Linked DNA regions of Homo sapiens: all the other regions are linked to region 4. The links are contacts of gene promoters, found by promoter capture Hi-C in human tissues and cell types (Jung and others, 2019). All regions are on one chromosome and are shown on one strand. The core of a region is centred on a gene start or on the middle of the fragment in contact, and the rest is flanking DNA. Distances in the headings are between cores, read along the strand shown.

Evidence for each region. The method cuts DNA at HindIII sites, captures the fragments that hold promoters and counts their contacts. A contact is called where the count stands out against the background at its distance.
Region 1: a fragment that was not itself captured here is called in contact with the fragment with the promoter of ZNF778 in region 4 in 6 of the 25 tissues and cell types used here (IMR-90 fibroblasts, dorsolateral prefrontal cortex, hippocampus and 3 more).
Region 2: a fragment that was not itself captured here is called in contact with the fragment with the promoter of ZNF778 in region 4 in 6 of the 25 tissues and cell types used here (adrenal gland, bladder, dorsolateral prefrontal cortex and 3 more).
Region 3: the fragment with the promoter of CPNE7 here is called in contact with the fragment with the promoter of ZNF778 in region 4 in 2 of the 25 tissues and cell types used here (dorsolateral prefrontal cortex and lymphoblastoid cells).

The regions. Positions count from the first base shown.
Region 1 is chr16:89,528,839-89,531,626 of GRCh38, forward strand. SPG7 (SPG7 matrix AAA peptidase subunit, paraplegin) reads left to right here. Exons shown (of 17, transcript NM_003119.4): 6 at 639-741; 7 at 1,845-1,970. Among named protein-coding and RNA genes, the nearest start is that of SPG7, 22 kb to the left of the region's middle. The HindIII fragment of the contact is 6,586 bases long and covers 1-2,788 here.
Region 2 is chr16:89,480,473-89,483,178 of GRCh38, forward strand. All of the region lies in intron 1 of ANKRD11 (ankyrin repeat domain containing 11), which reads right to left. Among named protein-coding and RNA genes, the nearest start is that of ANKRD11, 8.7 kb to the right of the region's middle. The HindIII fragment of the contact is 7,186 bases long and covers 1-2,706 here.
Region 3 is chr16:89,574,361-89,577,060 of GRCh38, forward strand. CPNE7 (copine 7) reads left to right here and starts at 1,398. Exons shown (of 15, transcript NM_153636.3): 1 at 1,398-1,711. The coding sequence starts at 1,538. RefSeq lists silencers at 322-551, 792-861. The HindIII fragment of the contact is 23,727 bases long and covers 1-2,700 here.
Region 4 is chr16:89,216,252-89,219,101 of GRCh38, forward strand. It overlaps ZNF778 (zinc finger protein 778), which reads left to right and starts at 1,452. Exons shown (of 7, transcript NM_001201407.2): 1 at 1,452-1,659. ZNF778-DT (ZNF778 divergent transcript) reads right to left here and starts at 1,402. Exons shown (of 1, transcript NR_186410.1): 1 at 1-1,402. RefSeq lists enhancers at 1-284, 1,234-1,283, 1,808-2,338, 2,339-2,850. The HindIII fragment of the contact is 6,098 bases long and covers 880-2,850 here.

The DNA.
Region 1 (2,788 bases), core at 75-2,574, 310 kb after region 4:
TCTTGCTCTGTAGCTCAGGCTGGAGTTCAGTGGCACGATCTTGACTCACTGCAGCCTTCACCTCCTAGGTTCAAGCATTTCTCCTGCCTCAGCCTCCCAAGTAGCTGGGATTGCAGACGCATGCCACCATGTCCAGCTAATTTTTGTATTTTTTTAGTAGATATGGGGTTTTACCATGTTGGCCAGGCTGGTCTCAAACTCCTGACCTTGTGATTCACCCGCCACGGCCTCCCAAAGTGCTAGGATTACAGGCGTGAGCCACCGCGCCCGGCCTGAGATTTGCTTTTTACTCTTAGGCTGATCTTGCCTGCCTGATTGAAGCTGATCGCTTACATTTGAAAACAAAATATACTGAAAATAGAAAAACCTGAACGTTGTTATTGTCACAAGGCTGGCTAGATCTCCGGCATCTGCACACTCAGTCTGACCATTTGGGAAGCTTTCATGAAAAAGCACAGTCAGCGAGAATGAGACGAGAGAACCCATTTCCACAACCATTTTAATCTGCGCATCGGTCCCAGACGTAGGGATTCCTCGTCTCATCTTGGAAACATTGCCAGCAGTGGTTCTGATTTGGAAGCCTGCGTCTGTCACGTGACACCGTCTGAGCCTGTGCCTGCCTCTCTTTCTTCCGGCAGTGCCCTGTACTCTGTGGGGATGACGGCAGTGGGCCTGGCCATCCTGTGGTATGTTTTCCGTCTGGCCGGGATGACTGGAAGGGAAGGTGGATTCAGTGCTTTTGTAAGTTCTGTAAATCAGAGCTCTCTGAACTCTTTCTGGTTTGTGTTTGCTGAATACTTTTCCCATAAGCTATACGATGAATACACAGGGAAAACCTGTTGCAGAGAGTAGCCTGAAGCCACAATTAGACAGCAGCTCACCTTCCTTTCCCATGGTCCGGCTGTAAGGCGTGTAGTAACCAATGTTGCCTGAGGGCCTCTCACCCCTAACTCTGGGGTGCCTGAGCCTTGTGAGATTACAGGGCAGTTGAATCTGCGTTTTTCTTTTCTTTTTTTTTGAGACGGAGTTTCGCCCTTCTTGCCCAGGCTGGAGTGCAGCCGTGCGATCTCAGCTCACCGCAACTTGCACCTCCCGCATTCAAGCAATTCTCCTGCCTCAGCTTCCCGAGTAGCTGGGATTACAGGCACGCGCCACCACGTCCAGCTAATTTTGTATTTTTGGTAGAGACGGGGTTTCTCCATGTTGTTCAGGCTGGTCTCGAACTCCCGACCTCAGGTGATCCTCCCGCCTCAGCCTCCCAAAGTGCTGGGATTATAGGCATGAGCCACTGCACCTGGCCTTTCTTTTTTGTGTGTGTGTGTGTGTGACAGAGTCTGGCTCTGTTGCCCAGGCTGGAGTGCAGTGGTGCGATCTCAGCTCACTGCAACCTCTGCCTCCTGGGTTCAAGCGATTCTCCTGCTTCAGCCTTCCAAGTAGCTGTGACTACAGGTGCCTGCCACCACACCCAGCTAATTTTTTTGTATTTTTGGTAGAGACAGGTTTCACCGTGTTAGCCAGGGTGGTCTCGATCTCTTGACCTCGTGATCCGCCCATCTCGGCCTCCCAAAGTGCTAGGATTACAGGCGTGAGCCACCATGCCTGGCTGAGTAATTTTTTTTAAAGCAAATTGCTAGATAAGTTTCTTACTAATTAATGACGAAACATTTCCCTTCTGTGCTTGAAGACTGACTGTGAGCCTCGTCAGCCTGACATGAGTGAAGCCTTGGGATCCTAGGATGGAGACGTGGGGTTGGGGCGGCTCAGGTGCGTGGGCTGAGCGCTGGCATCGTGCTGCTGATTTCCTGACTTCGCCCAGCTCCTTGCACTTTGTTCTTTCTGCACAGAATCAGCTTAAAATGGCTCGTTTCACCATTGTGGATGGGAAGATGGGGAAAGGAGTCAGCTTCAAAGACGTGGCAGGAATGCACGAAGCCAAACTGGAAGTCCGCGAGTTTGTGGATTATCTGAAGGTGAAAGCAGCGTGGGCCGGGAGGGAGGTGTGAGCAGAGGCCGGCCGTCCTCCTCTCCCAGAAGGGCTCCTGCGGGACCTGGAATTCCATCGATGACGTGTCGTGGGTTGGCGGTGACCTCTACCATGTCCCATGGGGACACCAAGCAGGTGCTGGTGCCTGTTCAACCAGCAGCACAAGCCTCGTGCACATGGTTCAGCCAAGCAGAGGCTGCCAAGACCCATGCCTACTGTGCCGTTAGCCGTCCTGGGCCCTTCATCCCTTGCAAAGCTCTGTGCTTTTTCCAGAACCACATAAACACCTTAGCCAGTTGGTGGCAGTGCATGAGCTGCCTATCACGTGCGTCACTTACACGTTTCCTCCGCGGGCCTGGTACGGTGGGTCGCACCTGTAGTCCTGGCACCTCGAGGGGCTGACATGTGTTCCCTCTGCAGGCCTGGTACAGTGGGTCACGCCTGTAGTCCTGGCACCTCGGGGCGCTGAGGCAGGGGAGTGACTGAGCCCAGGAGTAGGAGATCAGCCTGGGCAACAGTGAGACCCTGTCTCTGCAAAACATTTTTTTATTTAATTAATTTTTTTTTTCGAGACAGAGTCTCACTTTGTCACTCAGGCTGGAGTGCAGTGGCACAATCTCGGCTCACTACAACCTCCACCTCCCCAGTTCAAGTGATTCTCCTGCCTCAGCCTCCCGAGTAGCAGGGATCACAGGCGCCCACCACCATGCACGGCTAATTTTTGTATTTTTAGTAGAGACGGGGTTTTTCCATGTTGGCCAGGCTGGTCTCAAACTCCTGATCTCAAGCTACGCGCCTGCCTCA
Region 2 (2,706 bases), core at 149-2,648, 260 kb after region 4:
TCTCAAAAAAAAAGAAAAAAAAAATCCTAACTTTTAAGATTTCCAACCAAATATTAATTAGGTATCTATTAATATGTGCATAGAAGTAACAGAAGATATAAAACAAAAACAAGTCCAAGATGAGCCTAACCATGTATTTGGGCAAACAGAATCCCCGTTCTTCTTTCTATACTCCTTCTAGCAGCAGGCTTCAACCTCCAAAATCTCTAACCCCCTTCTGTTTGGACCCAAAACCACTATCTTGGCCCACATTTTACACTGTCCTGACAAAATATCTGAGGGCAAATACCAGTCTGCCTTGGCCATTAAAGTCATTTAGGCAACACATCTGCCGAGCTGAGCAGAGCCAGCAGGTACCCATCTAACACAAGGCTCCGTCCTGGGCTGTGCCCCTCAAGAATTCCCCAGATAGCCATTTCCTTTCCTCAACTGAGATGCCCACTTCTCCCTCCAGAATGTGGGCAAATCACACCAGTGACGTCCACATCTGTCAAATGTCCCCAGGGCAGAGAATGGAGAGTGACACACAGTAGGCACAAAATAAACAGCACCCAGCTTCTGCCCCACCACCCCGTTCCCCATTCCTGCTTTCTTTTCTGTCTCCTTTGCTCTATCGTTTCACAAAGCCACTCTCCTAACTAATGTTTGCCCCATTCCCTCCACTGGGAATCAATTCATCTTCTCTTTTTCCAAGTCTTTTTAATGAATACCAGTTAACACCATGAAGTCTTCACAATTCACCTACACAGTGTGCTTTCGAGTCCCCTTCCCTATTTCAAGTTTCTCCAGGTTCTCTTGTAGGGATCTTCTTAAGGCTGCATGTGATGTCTTGTGCCTGTCATCCCAGCACTTTGGGAGGCTGAGGCAGGAGGACTACTTGAGGCCAGGAGTTCAACATCAGCCTAAGAAACATAGCGAAACCCCATTTCTACAAAGAATTTTTAAAAATTAGCGCACGTCTGTAGTTCTAGCCACTCATGACGTTGACGCAGGAGGCTCACTTGAGCCCAGAAGCTCAAGGATGCAGTGAGATATGGTCACGCCACTGCACTCCACCCTGAGTGACAGAGCAAGACCTTGTCTCAAAAAAAGAACCATTTAGGCACCATGGTGTTGCAAAGCCAGTGCTTTCATCTAGGCATCCACCGCCTGCAAACTCTGACACATCATCTTCTGCCTCAAAACAAGTAAGCAAATGAAATTCAGGTCTATCATTGCAAACCCTACACAACCCAACTCCAGTCATGCTTCCAGGTTAATCTGCTGTCATCTTCCATCTTCTTGGATGGGCTTTCGTGTTCAGACACGTCTGGCTGACATTCTCACGTTACATGCGGCCTTCCCAGCCTTTGTCCCCAGCCTTCCCGAAGTCGAAGATGCCCTTACTCTGATTTCTGCAGTGACATTCTACTGATTCTTTTTTTAAAACAGAAACATAGCTTACAGTTAAAAAAAAAAAAAATAGCACTTCTTCCCTTAAATCTCCCAGGTCACAGAGCCTTTCCCTCCTCTGATCTATGATCTCTCTTTTCATAAGAACCAATATTTAATGCAAGCTTTAGTCAACTAAATGCATCTTTCTCCCAGATCTCAGAACAGGAGGCCACAGCACTGCACCCAGTGAGCAGCCAATGAACATCTGTGAAGGAAATCAGTGAAACATCAGAAAAAGCAGAGTTTGTCTAGTTTCAGAAGTCCCTTCTATAAAACATGTAGCTCCTTCCAGCTAAAAGAAGACACAAAGCTGTTCTCCCACTGTAGAGCACACTGCACCCCATTTGGAAAAGCAGTCAGGTGAGCCACACGTCAGCCACACCGTGCTTTACAAACATGCCAATGTGTGAACGGTCAGTCACAAAGACATAAAAAAAGATGACTGCCCTCATCAAAACTGCCAAGGTCATGAAAAACAGGGAAACGCTGAGAAATGGTTGCAGACGAGATTAAGGAGACATGACAACTAAATGCAATGTGGGATCCCGGATGGCATCTGAGGACAGCAAGGGAACATTACTGGAAAAACCTCCAGCTTGCTCACCCCTGGAACCTGTGAATGCCTTAGGTTACGTGGAAAAGGGAACTGAGGTTACTAATCAGCAGAGAGGGAGATGACCTCGCAGTGCTCGGGTGGGCCCAATTTGTAACCACAAGGATCCAAAAGTGAAACAAGGGCCAGGCACAGTGGCTCCATGCCTGTAATTCCAGCACTGCTGGGGGGCTGAGGCGGGAGGATTGATTGAGCCCAGGAGGTCGACGCTGCAGTGAGCCTTGATTGTGCCACTGCACTCCAGCCTGGGCAACAGAGCCGAGACTCTCCAAAAAAGCGGGTGGGCAGCAGGAGTCAGAGAGATGCCATGAGGCTGGCTTTGAAGACTGAGGAAAGCACTACAGGCCGAATGCAGGCAGCCTCTGGAACACGGAAAAGACAAGAACACAGATTCTCCCCTGGAGCCTCCAGAAGGAACCAGCCCTACCTACCCAGATTTTAGCCCAGGCAGATCATGTTAGGCTTCTAATCAACAGAACTATAAAACAATAAATCTAAGGTTATGGTGGTTAGTTACAGCAGCGCTGGAAAACCAACACGGGCAGCACTGACACAAGTCCCAGCACTTCTCCAACGCCCAAGAGCTGTTCTCTGTCTCCCTTCCACACCCTCCATTTGCCTTCACTCATCCCCCTGAACCAATATATTTATGGGCTTAG
Region 3 (2,700 bases), core at 148-2,647, 360 kb after region 4:
TGGGGAAAACTGTCCCAGGGCTGCTGGAACCGAGCGGGAGGCACGGCCTGCAGGAGCTGCCTGGGCGCCCGCACCCTTTGCCTGAATTTCGCATCCTTTTCCCATGGAAGTGGTTGGGGACCGAGGATGTGGCCTCCCGGCAGCCTGGAAGGCTGGGCTGAGGAGGACACAGGGCCGGGAAGGCCCAGACTGGTCCCTAGAGAGCGGGACTGGCCTCTGCCCACTGCGGGCTTCAGGGAGGAGGCGCAGAGGCCGGGGAGACAGCAGATGGGGCCCTGCAGGCCTCGCTGCGCCCTGACCTGTTCCTCGCCTCTTTAGCCAACCTCCCGGGAAGGCAGGAGCCGGTCTCCATGGCCTCTCCCGGCCCTGCCAGCCCCGTGGGGCCTCCCCGCCCTGCAGCCGCGCCCGGCGCCATCCCGCCGTCCGACCGCGAGGGGACGCCGCTGGCCGCGTTCCTCCTCCCAGGCCGAGGCTGCCTGTGCTGCCTCCCGCCGGCGGGGCCCTGAGCCTCCTCGCCCTGTCGGCGGCGGTCCCCTCTGACCGCAGGGTCTTCTTCTAGAGTCCTGATCGCCGAGGCTGAGCGGAGGCGCCCGGTCTTCCCGCCTCTTCAGTCTTAATGTCTCCCTCACCCTCGCCCCCCACCCCCGTGGCTTTTGGCGAGGTCCGTGCCCTATTTTTAGGCAGAAATCGGCAAAAAGAGTGGACTGCGAGGTGGTTTCTGTCCCCGCCGACGCCTCCTCTTCCGCTGCTCCCTCCCCCGGGACCGGTGATGGGGAAGGTGGGGGAGTGAGTTCAGGGCGGAGCGGGCCCACCCCCCACGGAACCCAGGCCTGCCCCGCCCCGCCCCGGCCTCGGGGGACTGGTGTGGACCGTGCCCCGCGGACCCCTCGGAATCAGACCGCGATTCAGCCCTCGGCCCCCCGGGACGGTCCTTCCAGCCCCAGACGAGCGCGGCGCCTGCACACAACAGGCGCCCACTAAATGCTTGTTGATGGAGGTGGCGAGTACCCGAAACCAGCGGAGCCTGGAAATGGGATCCTAGAGATCCGGGAAGGGCGCGGGGATCTGGTGCCAAGCTGGGGTCCCCCTTTTGCCTCCCCTAGTGTCTGCCTGGGTCCGAACCCGGGCTCAGGCCCCGCGCAGCTCGGAGCCTCCAGCCCGGAGCCGGTCCCTGGGCCGGGGATGCGCACAGCCGGGGAGGGCGCGCCCGACCTGACCCCAAAGCTATCAGTTGGGGGGGGGGTCCCCGGGGAATTAGAAGCTGTCTCCTCCCGGGCATCTCCGAGGGGCACCCCTGCCTCTGCCCCCTGCCCTCATTTCCCGCCGCGCCCCTCCCCGGCCCCGCCCCCCGGCCGCGCCCCACCCCCTGCAGTCCCCGCGCGGCGGCCGCCCGAGCCACGTGCGCCCGCGCCCGGCAGGCGTTCAGGGAAGCGCGGCCACGCCTGGGCCGGCCACCATTTCCCGGGCGCCGCGGCGGCGCCGACTCGCGGGCAGCGGCCCCTCAGTGCGCCCAGCCGGGCCCCCGAACGCCGGGAGCATGAGCGCGGGCTCGGAGCGCGGGGCGGCGGCAACCCCCGGGGGTTTGCCCGCGCCCTGCGCCTCGAAGGTGGAGCTGCGGCTCAGCTGCCGGCACCTGCTGGACCGCGACCCGCTCACCAAGTCCGACCCCAGCGTGGCGTTGCTGCAGCAGGCGCAGGGCCAGTGGGTGCAGGTAGGGCCGGGGCGTGGGAGGCCGAGAGGCCACCGGGCCGGGGCTGGCGCCGAGCTGGGGATGCGGAGACCAGAGCGGGCGCGCTGAGGCCAGTGGGGCGCAAGGCGGGGCCCCCCGGAGCTGGGGCTCAGCTCGGGGTCAGGGTTGGGGGTTACCAGGTCTGGGGGTGGGGTGTCCAGAGCTGTGGGGAGAGGCTGGGCTGGAGGAGGTGGCGGCGAGCGGGGTTCGGAGGAGAGAGGGGGGTGCCCCGCAGTGAGGGGTGCGGCCCAGGGTTCGGGGAGGGGGCCCCGGGCCAGAGTGAAGCGCCCAGGCATGAGGCGCGGGCAGGGGGCTCGACCAAGAGGCGCAAGGAGATTGAGGGGTGAGGGGCGCCGGCCGACGGGGGGCGGGAGGCTGGGCGGGAGCAGGCCGGCGAGGGAGCGCGCGCTGGGGTGCGGACCTCCAGGCGTCCGGGGCTCCCGCTCCAACGTGGGTCTCAAGCGAACCCGCTGTGATCGCGGTTGGGGTCCGAAGGGGCACGGGGCCGGCGCCAGACGGGCGCTTCCTCGGTCACCATCTCGCGTGAAACGCGTGGCTTCACCTCGAAAGGGCGAGAAACGCATGGCGCGAAGCCGCAGCGGGCGGAGGAGCCGGAACTCGAACCCCAGTCCGCGCGGGGCGCCAGCGCTTTTCCCCGGCGCAGGGGTCTCTCCAGGCTCCAGCGCGGGCCCGGGCGGCTGCTCGGGCGGTGGAAGGGACGCGGTCACCCGGTGGCGTCTCCGGTCATCCACCTTGAGGGTGAAGGGCCTGCCCCGCCCTCACCGCCTGTCCCCAGGGTTCCGGCTGCCCCCGGAGGCCCCGTGCCCGCCCCTCACAGCCTGAGCCCACCCTTCACATCCCGAGCCCACCATCCCCACGGAGGCCTCGTGCCCGCACCCTCAGAGCGTGAGCTGTACGGGTGGCCCATGTTTGCCCTTGGTTTGAGGTGCAGGATTTTTCAGGATTCTGAA
Region 4 (2,850 bases), core at 202-2,701:
CCGTATCAAAATTAATAAATAATAAATAAAACACATCCCAAACACTCATAGTGTTGAACCATTTAGCATGTGGTTGCTTTGTATACTTCGTGAAATTGTGTCCAATCTCTGCTAGCCATAGATAAGATAAATCCTGGGGCTCTAAAGACTGCAAGCCGTTGCTGCCCTTCAGAGCTTTGTGACTCAGACACCTGTCAGGCTGCTGAGAAACGTGATCTAGTCACGTCAGCCCTCCCCCTGTCTGATCTCCTTCTTCTCTGGGAGTTCTCTGCGCGCCCCCCGCCCACGCTCATTTTTTTCTCTTTTCTGAGTAGTGACCCCCAATTCGAAGCCTGTGGGTAATCTCATGGTGCGTGAGACTCCCTCACCCTCCAACCTGTCAAAGCTTGTGCGCCACCGCCACCTCCTGGGCACATCTTGTTTCTTAATCAGCCACGAAATCACGTGAACACTTCACATGTGGTTTTGTTTTGTTTTTCACATTTAGACTCCTGATCCGTTTGGAGTTTATCCCTGTGAGATCCAGAATTAATTTCATCATTTCTCAGACGGCTAACCATTTGTCTTAGCACCTTTCATTATAAACTGCATGTTTGTTCCACCGCTCTGAAATTATGTTTATGAACCAAATTTCCATGTTACTGGGTTGATGTCTGGATATTCCATTTGTTTCCTGTTCATGTGTCACTAGCACACAGTTTTAATGACAGAGGCTGTTTTCGCATCTGTCGGGCATTGCGCTTTTGTTTGTCCGCGTCGTCTGCGTTATGAGACATTTGTTCCTCCATGTGAACTCCAGGATCAATATGCCTGGTTCCAAAAAAAAAACCTTTTCGTATTGTTACTGGAATCATGTGACATTTCTGAATGAACCTTGGGAGAACCCCTGGTATCAGTGCTATTTTGCAACGTAGTATAGGTGGTCTTGGCTCCTACGGTACATTAGAAAAGTAACAGAAACGCATATTTGAAGCGAAAAATAGATGAACATTTACAGAAAAAAAAAATACCACATTGAAAATGCAGTGGAATCAACTGTTAAAAGTTCGGCGTGATGTTCAGACAGATAAAAAGGAACGGGGCCAGTGACTCCCTGCAGAGATCGAGAGAAGACCGAGCACTCCCAGCACCCGCGGGCTTCTCGCTGTGACCGAACCGCGGGCCGCGCTCGCGACGAGCACTTCCTGGCTGTACCCGCCCAACCGCGCCCTCCTGGTCTGTTCCGGCTCCGCAGTTGCGTCCAGAGGCCTGATCCTTACGTCCGCCTGGTCCTCCGGGCCTGTCTCTGCCTCCAGCCCGGTTCCCAAGGGCGCCCCGGGGCCCTCCCGCACCCTCGCGGAAGAAACTACTACCTCCCCGCACCATAGGCCAAAGCTTCGGCCCGGAGGCTGGAGGCGGAAGTGACGCCAAAGACGCGCCGGCCCCTCTTCCGGCGCCGGCCCCGCCTCCGCCTGTCTTACAGCTGATCCGGTTCTTGCGGCGGTGCGTGCTGGCGCCGGAGAGTTCCGCGCGTGTCCTCGGGCTGTCCGCGGGGAAGCTGGTCCGGGAGTGGGCGCCCGCCCGCCTGCCTCGCGCCTTGCGCCCCCGGCACCGCTTCCAGAAGGGAAAGTCGCCGCCGCTCGCGGTAGACCCGGGCAGCGCTTCCATTCCGCGGAGCTGGTGAGAGAGGGGCCCTTTGCTTCCTTCACTTTGAACAGGGCGTGTTTCTGTGAGAATCTGGCTTCGGCTTTGACGTTTTTTATTTGTTTCTGGCACATTGTGTTGGGACCGAAGCGTAAGGTAGACCCCTGAGCGCCCCGGGCGTGCAGCTCCCTGTGAAAGTTAGCCCGTGGGGGCCAGCGGGAGCGCGCGTCCCTCGCCGCCGGGACTTCCAGGCCCGGCCCTCGGGGCGGGAGGGATGCGGCCGTTGTCCCGCTGGTCTTGGAGTAATCGAATCCACGGTGAACAGTGTGTTTCGACTAACTGTATTTTTTCTCACGTTTTGCTTTAGAAAATCTGAATCTAATAAAAATGTGAACATCTGCTACAAGGAATATCCACTGCAATCGTTTTACTCCTTTTTAGCTTTGGGCCATGTTTTCTCTCTCCCCCAATAAATAAACCTTACGGTGAATTATTATTTGAGTGTAAGTAAGTTGAAATTAAACTGCACACATGATACTTAACCTTTAAATACTTGGTAAAGCGTCTGTTAAGGGTAAGGACATTATCCTACTGAAACCACAATATTAGTATTTCATCTAAGAAAATTAAAATTAGGCCGGGCGCGGTGGCTCACGCCTGTAATCCCAGCACTTTGGGAGGCCGAGGCGGGTGGATCACGAGGTCAGGAGACCGACACCATCCTGGCTAACACGGTGAAACCCCATCTCTACTAAAAATACAAAAAATTAGCCGGGCGTGGTGGCGGGCTCCTGTAGTCCCAGCTACTCTGGAGGCTGAGGCAGGAGAATGGCGTGAACCCGGGAGGCGGAGCTTGCAGTGAGCCGAGATGGCGCCACTGCACTCCAGCCTGGGCGACAGAGCGAGACTCCGTCTCAAAAAATAATAATAATAATTAAAAATAATAAGGTCCGCTGGGCACAGTGGCTCACGCCTGTAATCCTAGCACTTTGGGAGGCCGAGGCGGGTGGATCATCTGAGGTCGGGAGTTCAAGACCAGCCTGACTAACATGGAGAAATCCCGTCTCTACTAAAAGTACAAAATTAGCCTTGCATGGTGGCGCATGCCTGTAATCCCAGCTAGTCGGGAGGCTGAGGCAGGAGAATCGCTTGAACCTGGGTGGCACAGGTTGCGGTGAGCCAAGATCGTGCCATTGCACTCCAGCCTGGGCGACAGAGCAAGACTCC